Regions from separate parts of the Homo sapiens genome. Here region 1 is linked to region 2. Evidence: promoter capture Hi-C in 16 types of primary human blood cells and fetal thymus (Javierre and others, 2016). All regions are on one chromosome and are shown on one strand. The core of a region is centred on a gene start or on the middle of the fragment in contact, and the rest is flanking DNA. Distances in the headings are between cores, read along the strand shown.

The links. Contacts are between HindIII fragments. The CHiCAGO score rates a contact against its expected background, and 5 or more counts as called.
Region 1: a fragment that was not itself captured here is called in contact with the fragment with the promoter of PLCE1-AS1 in region 2 in 1 of 17 cell types (megakaryocytes); the score reaches 5.8 in megakaryocytes.

The regions. Positions count from the first base shown.
Region 1 is chr10:93,816,639-93,821,017 of GRCh38, reverse strand. No RefSeq gene overlaps it. Among named protein-coding and RNA genes, the nearest start is that of LGI1, 61 kb to the right of the region's middle. The HindIII fragment of the contact is 484 bases long and covers 2,093-2,576 here.
Region 2 is chr10:94,285,583-94,290,015 of GRCh38, reverse strand. PLCE1-AS1 (PLCE1 antisense RNA 1) reads left to right here and starts at 2,946. Exons shown (of 4, transcript NR_033969.1): 1 at 2,946-3,175. The region is part of intron 22 of PLCE1 (phospholipase C epsilon 1); the gene reads right to left. The HindIII fragment of the contact is 4,167 bases long and covers 1,166-4,433 here.

The DNA of each region.
Region 1 (4,379 bases), core at 1,085-3,584, 470 kb after region 2:
TAGCCTCACCGGTTGGCTGTCTTCACTCATTCCTGGGCATAGGACAAGCTAACATATTCTTACTTTTAACCAAATTAAAATTTATAGTTTAACTTGGAAGCAAGGATGATAATAGTTTCTCCCTGAAACGAATCCTCTCCTTGTTGGGGCCAGGGGGCGGGCTGAAACTACTTTCATAAGACTAATGAAAGGCCATAAGATTAGGATTATGGGAGGGCCCTGAATTCTGCTAAAATGTCGGTATAGTTTTTATGATCCCTTACTTCTCAGGAATCGTGTGGCCAGAGGTCACAAGATTTATGACTTCCCTAATTGCTCATATAGATAATATCACTATTGTAGAACTTAAGATTGGTCTTTTGAGATGTTTTTCAGACTGATGCCACCCAGACTCATGACTCATAACTCAACTATTTCTGTGCCCTCCTCTCCCACCAAGAGGTGGACTCAGTGCACAGATGGTGACCATTTTCCACACCCCTATGATTGCATTGCCAACCAATCAGCAGCACCCATTCTCTATCCCCTGCCCACCAAACTATCCTTGAAAAACCCTAACCCGTGAGCCTTTGGGGAGACTGATTTGAGTACTAACTCTATTTCCCCTGTGGCCAGCCTCACATCAATTAAACTACTGCAATACCATGGTCTCGGTGAATTGGTTTTGTCTGTGCAGAGGATGGGACGAACTCATCAGGCGATTACAGAGTTGTTGTAAAGATTATTTTAAGCTGAAGACATTTGAGACTCAACAGATGCAGAAAAAGACTTTCTTGGAGCTTTCCTAATCTGATGAAACACAGCAACTTTGGGAAATGAGACTACCATAAATCCCTTCTCCTAGGGAGAGTCCTAGCTGTGAAGAAGAGAGAAAGGCCACTAGCACCTATGTAAATAAAATGTCACAAACTTTCTTATCTCCCATTTATTCTCATAAAAATCCAATTGTCTTTCCTAAGGAAACCTATTTGTTCTTCTCATAGGAGCCTTTTCTCCTTTTTCCTTCCCCTACTATGTTAGGTACATAAGCCCTGAATTCTAACAGTGAGCACAATCACTGAGTGCATCACTGAGCACTCCTGTGTGTATGCACATTGCATGCTTAAATCAACTCTTCTTTTCTCTTGTCAATCTATCTTTTGATGGTTTAGATTCGTAGGCCCCCAGGCACTGACTCTGTGAAGGTAAAGTGTTTCCTCTCCAGCACCAGGAATAGCACTGATATGGTTTGGCTCCATGTCTCACCCAAATCTTATGTCAAATTGCAATCCTCACATGTCAGGGGAGGAGACTGGTGGGAGGTGATTGGATCACGGAGGTGGATTTCCCCCTTGCTGTTCTTGTGATAACGAATGAGTTCTCATGAGATCCGATGGTTTAAAAGTGTGTGGCACTTTCCCCCTCATTCTGTCTCTCCTTCTACTCTGCCTTGCTAAGATATGCTTCTCCTTCACCTTCTGCCATGATTGTAAGTTTCCTGAGGCCCCCTGGCCATGTGAAACTGTAGAGCCTGTTGAACCGTGAGTCAATTAAACTCCTTTTCTTCATAAATAACCAAGTCTCAAATAGTTCTTTCTAGCAGTGTGAGAATGGACTAATATAGGACTCTGCTTTGGACACTGACCCTGAGCAAGTGGTGTATTTCTGCCACTGTTCTAGATGTACGGATGAAGTTCTGTCATCCACTGTTCTTGGGTAGCTCCCCACTACCAAGGGCTACATTCAGTCCTTCCTCTGGACTCCAGTCTTGTTTGCCTAGTTCCAGTCTCACTGTTTGTCCCTGTGGTTTTATACTTTGCTTATTGTTTAAGTTTTACTCCTTTTTTGAGCCAGTGACATTTTCCTCTTGCATTTTTAGAGAAGCATAGAAATATGTATTTAATATCTAACCTGTCATTCCTATGGACTTGGAGCACAGGAAAGAGGATTATGAATGCATTTGCTCTGATATCTTTATTAAGAAGTTTTCAGGCCTTTTAAAAGTGAGGATGCCAGTATTTATCTGAACTCAAAACAATGGTTCTTGATCCAGTAATTCTGTTTCTGGAACTCTTCCTAGAGGAAGTAATCCAAAAAATGGGGGAAAAAAGCTTCATACACAAAGATGTTCATGGCTGTATTACTTTCTATGGTAAAGATCTGAATATATTATAAATATTTCCCAACAATAAATAAATATTAATATTTCCATTTAATATAATATTATGCAGCTACTAAAATAATACTTTACAAAGAATATATGATATAAAAATGCTTATTATAATACAAGGGAGAAAATTTGTAGCCATTTTTTGTTGTTTTATACAAGCATGCATTAAAAAATAGCATAGAAAGACTAATAAAAAGAAACCACATCAGTGCTAAAAACGGTTGTCTCTTAGTTTTTCTTTATTTTCAAAATTGTGTGTTATGTATATGAATCGCTTTTATAATAGGAAGATACCTAAATAAATATATTAACAAAAAGCTGAATGATAGAAGGACATTTTAAGACAGGCATCTTTCATGATTATAGAGAATGGATTGGCATACTACAAAACGATTGCTTCTAAAACACACAAACAGCAGAGGAAGCTTTTGTGTTAGAAGATTATTGGTTGTGATTAGATGGGTTTTCAGCATCAGGGCACAAGAAGCACCAGTTTGGTGACATCGAGCAAGGAGGCAGGGCTACAAGGGACTGGCAGATGGCAAGAACCTACACTCTGCAGGCAAATGGCCAGGCGCCAGGATCAGATGAGGGAAAGGGCAAGCTAGGAGACTGCGCCAGGGGAGCCAGTGGTAGGGGCCGGACAGGAGCCAACACTTATTGAGGGGTTGCTGAGTTTGTGCCAGGCACTGTTTTGGATCCTGAAATACAGGTGGAGAAGACTGACACAGTTCTTGCCTTCATGAAACTTACAGTCCATGGCAGGGGTTTCAAGCTGTTTTTTTTTTTTTGGAAAGGGCTAGACAGTAAGCATCTTAGGTTTTGTGAAGCTATACAATCTGTGTTACAATTACTCAGTTCTGCCACTGTAGCTTAGTAAAAGCAGCCACAGACAACAGTAAATGGATGGGTGTGGCTAGGTACCAATGAAACTTTGTTTATAAAAATAAGTGGTGGCTAGACTTGGATGGTGGCATAGTTTGCCACCTCCTGATCTAAGTGGAAGACAGACAGTAAACAAGTAAACAAGTTAATATGATAATTATGGTTTGTGATCATTGTCAGGAAGGAAATCAAAAGGGTGATCTAGTAGTGAATTAGTAATACATTACATTTTACCTTTTACCGAGATGTGACATCCATACAATAAGGTGCACAAATTCCAGGATATAGAATATTCTTAACACCTTAGAACTGGGTCCTGAAGCATTAGAATGACCTCTCCATCCAAAGAACTGGGCATGGGGAAGCATTCCAGGCAGAAGGGAAAACAAGTACAAGAGTCTGAGGCAGAAAAAGGTTTCGCATCTTCCATGAACAGAAAGGGTTTTCATGGGGCTAGATAGCAGTGAGCAGGGAATAGGGTGGGATGCTGTGGGTAGAGGAAAACCCCACAGACTTTAGAGGCCATTGTGGACATTCTGTATCTTATTCTAAATGTTATAGGAGAGCAATGGAGGGTTTTAAGCAGAATGGCATGATCTGATTGAAGTTTCAAGATGATAAGTGAACTGCTGTCTTCTTTCTGGACTTTTCTGTAGTAGTGTTCAGTTAGGACGGGGAACTGGGGCTAGGGGCTGGGGGCTGGGAGCATCCAGCCTCAGCTGGAGCTGAGATGGGCTGTGTGAGGAAAATCCATTAAAGAACACCATTACCATACACCACATACTGAACCATAAACATCGATTTATTTTGTAAAACACCTCTTTGAAATATTACTGTAACTAGATTTATTGGCACCTGTTTCCGAGCACTTAATTAGGAGATACTTTAAGAACTGTGCATCAAAGACAAGAACCTGAAGAAAATGCAAGCAGGGGGTTAAGAGGTGAGGTGAGCTGGCAGGTACAGATCTAGCAGCAGCAAGTCATGCTGCCGAGGTGGAGGCTCACGGGAGGCAGGAGGAGGGGGTCAGAATATATCTTTAGTGTCCAGGAAGAGACCCCGGTGGTTTTTGGAACCAGAGAGTTGAGGTTTGCTTTCATTGGTGTGGCTTGGTTCTGATTTAATGTTTTGAAGACATATTGTAGGGAATAGTTACAAAGTGTCCCTAGGATGGTGAAAAGAGGCGGGTGGTGAGGGGGCAAGAAGGAATGGAGTTTTGTAAATGGAGAATTAGAGGAAATGATAATTTGGGGCCAAGAGCCTTCCTCCTTCTCTCCCTACCTGCCTCTCTTCTTTTCTCCTTCCTTCCCTTTCATTTATTTACTTACTTATTTATTTATTTACT
Region 2 (4,433 bases), core at 1,697-4,196:
GAAAACATTTTTATACAGTTGTACAATGTGTTTGTGTTTTAAGCTAAGTGTTATTACAAAAGAGTCAAAAAGTTAAAAAAATAAAAATTTATAAAATATAAAGTTACAGTAAGCTAAGGTTAATTTATTTTTGAAGAAAAATTTTTATTTATAAATGTAGTGTAGCCTTAGTGTACAGTGTTTATAAAGTCGATAGTCATGTACAGTAATGTCCCAGGTCTTCACATTCACTCATCACTCACTCACTGATCCACCTAGAGCAACTTCCAGTCTTGCAAGCTTCATTCATGATAAGTGCCCTATACAGATGTACCATTTTAAATCTTTTATGTCATAATTTTACTGTACCTTGTCTGTTTAGGTATGTTTAAACGCACAAATACTTATCATTGTGTTACACTTACCTACCGTATTCAGTGCAGTAACATGCCGTACAGGCTGGTAGCTTAGGAGCAACAGGCTACACCATCTAGCCTAGGTGTGTAGCAGGCTACACTGTAGCTTTGTCTAAGTTCACTCTATGATGTTTCACACAATGACAAAATAATCTAATGAAGCATTCTCAGAATGTCTCTCCCTGATTAAGTGATGCATTACTGTAAATATAATCAGTGCTAGGCTTTCTTCTGGATGCTCTCCCAGAGACATCAGAGGATTCAACATATTGGCACTGCTAAAATCAGGAGAGAAGCTGAGTCTGGGGATGGTCCGAGAGCCACTCAGGGTCACACGGCTACTTTTCCTTCCTGAGTGCCTTGCCTGCCATGCTCTGCAGGGCCTCATCTTACCCAGTCACTATAGGTCCGAAAAGCTGTGTTCACTGGTTTTGCAAGATATTGGGAGGCACCGAGGGTAATTAAGTTTCAGTGAACAGGGCTACCTCTCAGTGGTGTGTTGGTTGACATTCTCCCGAGAGTTCTGTTCCAAGCCCTCTCATTTCTTGAAATGCATCCCTTTGCCCTCCAAGGTGTTCCAACCTGCAGCACTACTGTGGGTCTGAGTAACCCAGAACAGCCATGGGGGATGGCCAAGGCTCTCTGTGGGGGAGGCAACTCTCAGTGCCAGGGACCTACACCCAGCTAGCCCAAAGCTGTCCAAGGCAGCAGGGTTCTACTTTTGTCATTCAAATGGCTTGTTAGCAAACCACTGTTTGATGAACAAAGCTTGTCTCTCAGTGCTGAGAAAATGACAGTGTGTGTCCAGGGAATGGACTGACACTTGCAAGGCTCTCCCCATGTGGCTCCTTCAGTGTAGGAATAAAAATGAGCCCTGGAAGTCACAGAATCTTCCGGACGAGCCTCACCATGGAATCCCTGGGCACCTGCTCTGTGGACTGTGTGGTGGATCCAAAGGAGAATGAGGCAAAATCCCCCTCAGAATCAGACTTCCAGATCATCTGGCTCTACCTGCTCCTGAATTGCCTGCCTTAGAAACCCAGGGACCAGGACCTCCCAGTGCCTTCCAAATGTAAATCCCTGGTAGAGAGGCCTGAGACTGGGTATGTTAATCAAGTGGCCTGGGTGATTCTGGAGATTTCAGCAAGTGTAGTAAACAAGGATTCTAGTCAACTCCACTTTTGAGTGAGAAAGGCTCAGAGAGATTTGCCTTGGCCAAATCACAAAGCATGGTAGCCAAGAGCCCAGGTCTCTGACCCACGATCTTATCTGATGATCTTGTCACCACTGAATAATTTTTGTCTTACAGGGTTGTAATCTTTTAAGCTATGGGTATGTCAAGGCATACAGAGCAGCGTAATGGACATTGGAGACTCAGAATGAGAGTGGGAGGGAGGTGAGGGATGAAAAACTACCTGGTGGGTATGACTTACACGACTTGGGTGACAGGTGCGCTAAAATCCCAGACTTCATCACTATACAATTCATCCATGTAACCAAAAACTACTTGTACCACTAAAGCTGTCAAAATAAAAAAATTCAAAATAAAAGAACAAGGTTGCACTCCTAACTGTGGAACAACTGGGTATCTAGGAGGTACCCAAACATATGCCTATAAATGAAGGAGCTCCAGAAAGGAGATGTCACAATGAGTTGAAGAGTCTCAGATACTTTCCAAGGACCCCGTCCTTGGAATTTGGAATGGGGCCAAGGGGAGAAGGAAGGCCAGGCAAGGTTGAGAACACTCTGAGCAATGGCCTGGCACTAGAAAGACGGCAGTGTATGTAGGTGCCTGAGGAGAGTGGGGGATGCAGGGGAGCTTGTGGGAAGATATTGGAAACTAGGTTGATGGGGTCATAAAATAAAAATACCATATCCTTTTTTTTTTCTATTAGAAGGAGAAAAAAACCCAGGACAATAGAAGTACTAAATGCAACCGAGAAATAAACCCTAAGAGAAAGCAGGTCGAAAAAATTCAACTACTTCCATAGTGTGGTGCAAAGAGCCCACCCCTGGGAGCTGACAGGAATTCTGGCTCTTGCCCTGCCACTGACCTAGCTTCTGATGGTGGGGAAGTTCCTTCCTTTCTGTGGGCCTCATACCACATGATTGTTGAGTGCCTCATTGCAATGAAGGGTTTTTTTTTTTTTTTTGCATATGGCTTGTAAGAAGGGACTTGGGATGATGAAAGGTGACATACACTGAAATTGATAATGTAGCAAAATTAAAATAAACGGCATAGCAAAATGAACAGTTTATAGTATTTTCCTCATGTGCATCAAACAAATGATTGTAAAAAGAAATATTTAGAAGGTATTATAACAATCATTCTGGCAATCCAATTTAGCTATTTTGAGACAGGAAATAAAATCAGGGAAAAAATGTAAGAAATTTCATTTTTCTAAAGAGAAAATACACTATACCTATGAAGAAATGTATGCTATGTGAACACTTTTAAAAAACAACATACTTGGAATTTTTAAAATAAGCCGAACAACCACATGCTTAGAAGCTCTATCACATGACCTCCTGATCTTCCACGATTCTCTACTGGTACAGAGACTTTATCTTTCACACAGACTTCAAATATCTTTGGGAATTTGTGCTCCTTATTTACTGAGTGCTTGAGAAGAAAAGACAAAGCCAGTGGAATGGTCCGAGTGTGGCATCCGCTGCATTTATAAAGAATAAGAGCTGCAGTGGGTGTGATTCTTGGACAGAGTGGCGCTCATCCTTGTTCCTGCAATGAAGGACATGCCAGCCTCCAGGCTCTTTGACAGGTAAAGGGTTTTACTCCATCAGAAAAAGAGTTTTGCCAGTTGCAAATAATGGTCATATTGTACTTATATGCCATGAGGTCATGGTCTGTGAAATTAAACTTAAATGGCCAGGTTCCTGCATTTCTCTGAAATCTTTGCTGGCTACTTATTGATTCATATCCTCCTCAACAGGATTTGCTAGCAGACAAGCAGTAGCAGCTGCCAAAAGTTTAAAAACAGCTTATAGGAGAAAACTTACAATTAAAATGATTTTAATATCATGAAATATATGATTTTTATCATATCATTAAATAATATGATTTTTTTTACTCTGATGTGTGAAAAGCTCACTATTACCTAACTGTGATTTTAAAAATTTAATTATTATTTTTTAGAGATGAGGTCTTGCTATATATCTTGCCCAGGCTGGGCTTGAACTCCTAGACTCAAGCATTTCTCCTGCTCAGCCTCCCTGGTAGCTGGGATTACAGGCACGCACCACTACACCCAGTTTGCCTAATTTTTAAATAGCCCAATGCCTCTGGCCCATTTGTCAGGCACTGTGTGAGACCAGGTGCTTAAGATATGCTCTGGGAGGGACCTGAGTTCAGCCCATCTTGAAAAGATGAGGGCATTTTAGTGCCTCTCTCCAGGCCAAGTCTATAAATCCTGTTTACTAACATTTAGACTGATCCTCCTATCTCAGCCACTTTCCTGTTCTCAGAAATTATATTCAAGAGAATCCTTTTTCTTAGTATGAGGAGATGAATTTTTCTGAGTTCCATGTACTTAGGGACTTTCTTGTTTGTCTTCTACCCCCTGGTGCCCCATTTGTGGGACACATAATTGAGTACCTCATTGAAAACAGCCCGAAACAAGAGAGGCCAGGCAGTATAACGGGTAAGGGCAGGACTTTGGAGACAGACAGGCTTCAGAGCCATAGGTCTACCATTCATTAATTGAAAAGGACACTGTTTTTGGAAAGTGGTTCATCAGCCTGTCCACTGTACTTCTAAAAACGGTCAATTGGGGGAAATCTCTCCTTCCACTTCAACGCCATCCTTGGTCCTTGTGGTTTGGGTGGGGCCTTGCTACCCAGCTCAGAGTGGAGAATGTGACATGGGATCCAGACCATCAGAGCACTGCATCTCCTGGCCACAGTGATTGGTAAAGGACCCAATGAGAAACAATGACACTTCTGCGGGAAGTTCTGGAAGAGACTCTTACACTGAAGCTGAAACTGGAAGCATGTAGTGCTGGCCTGCTGTAGCCGTCTCGC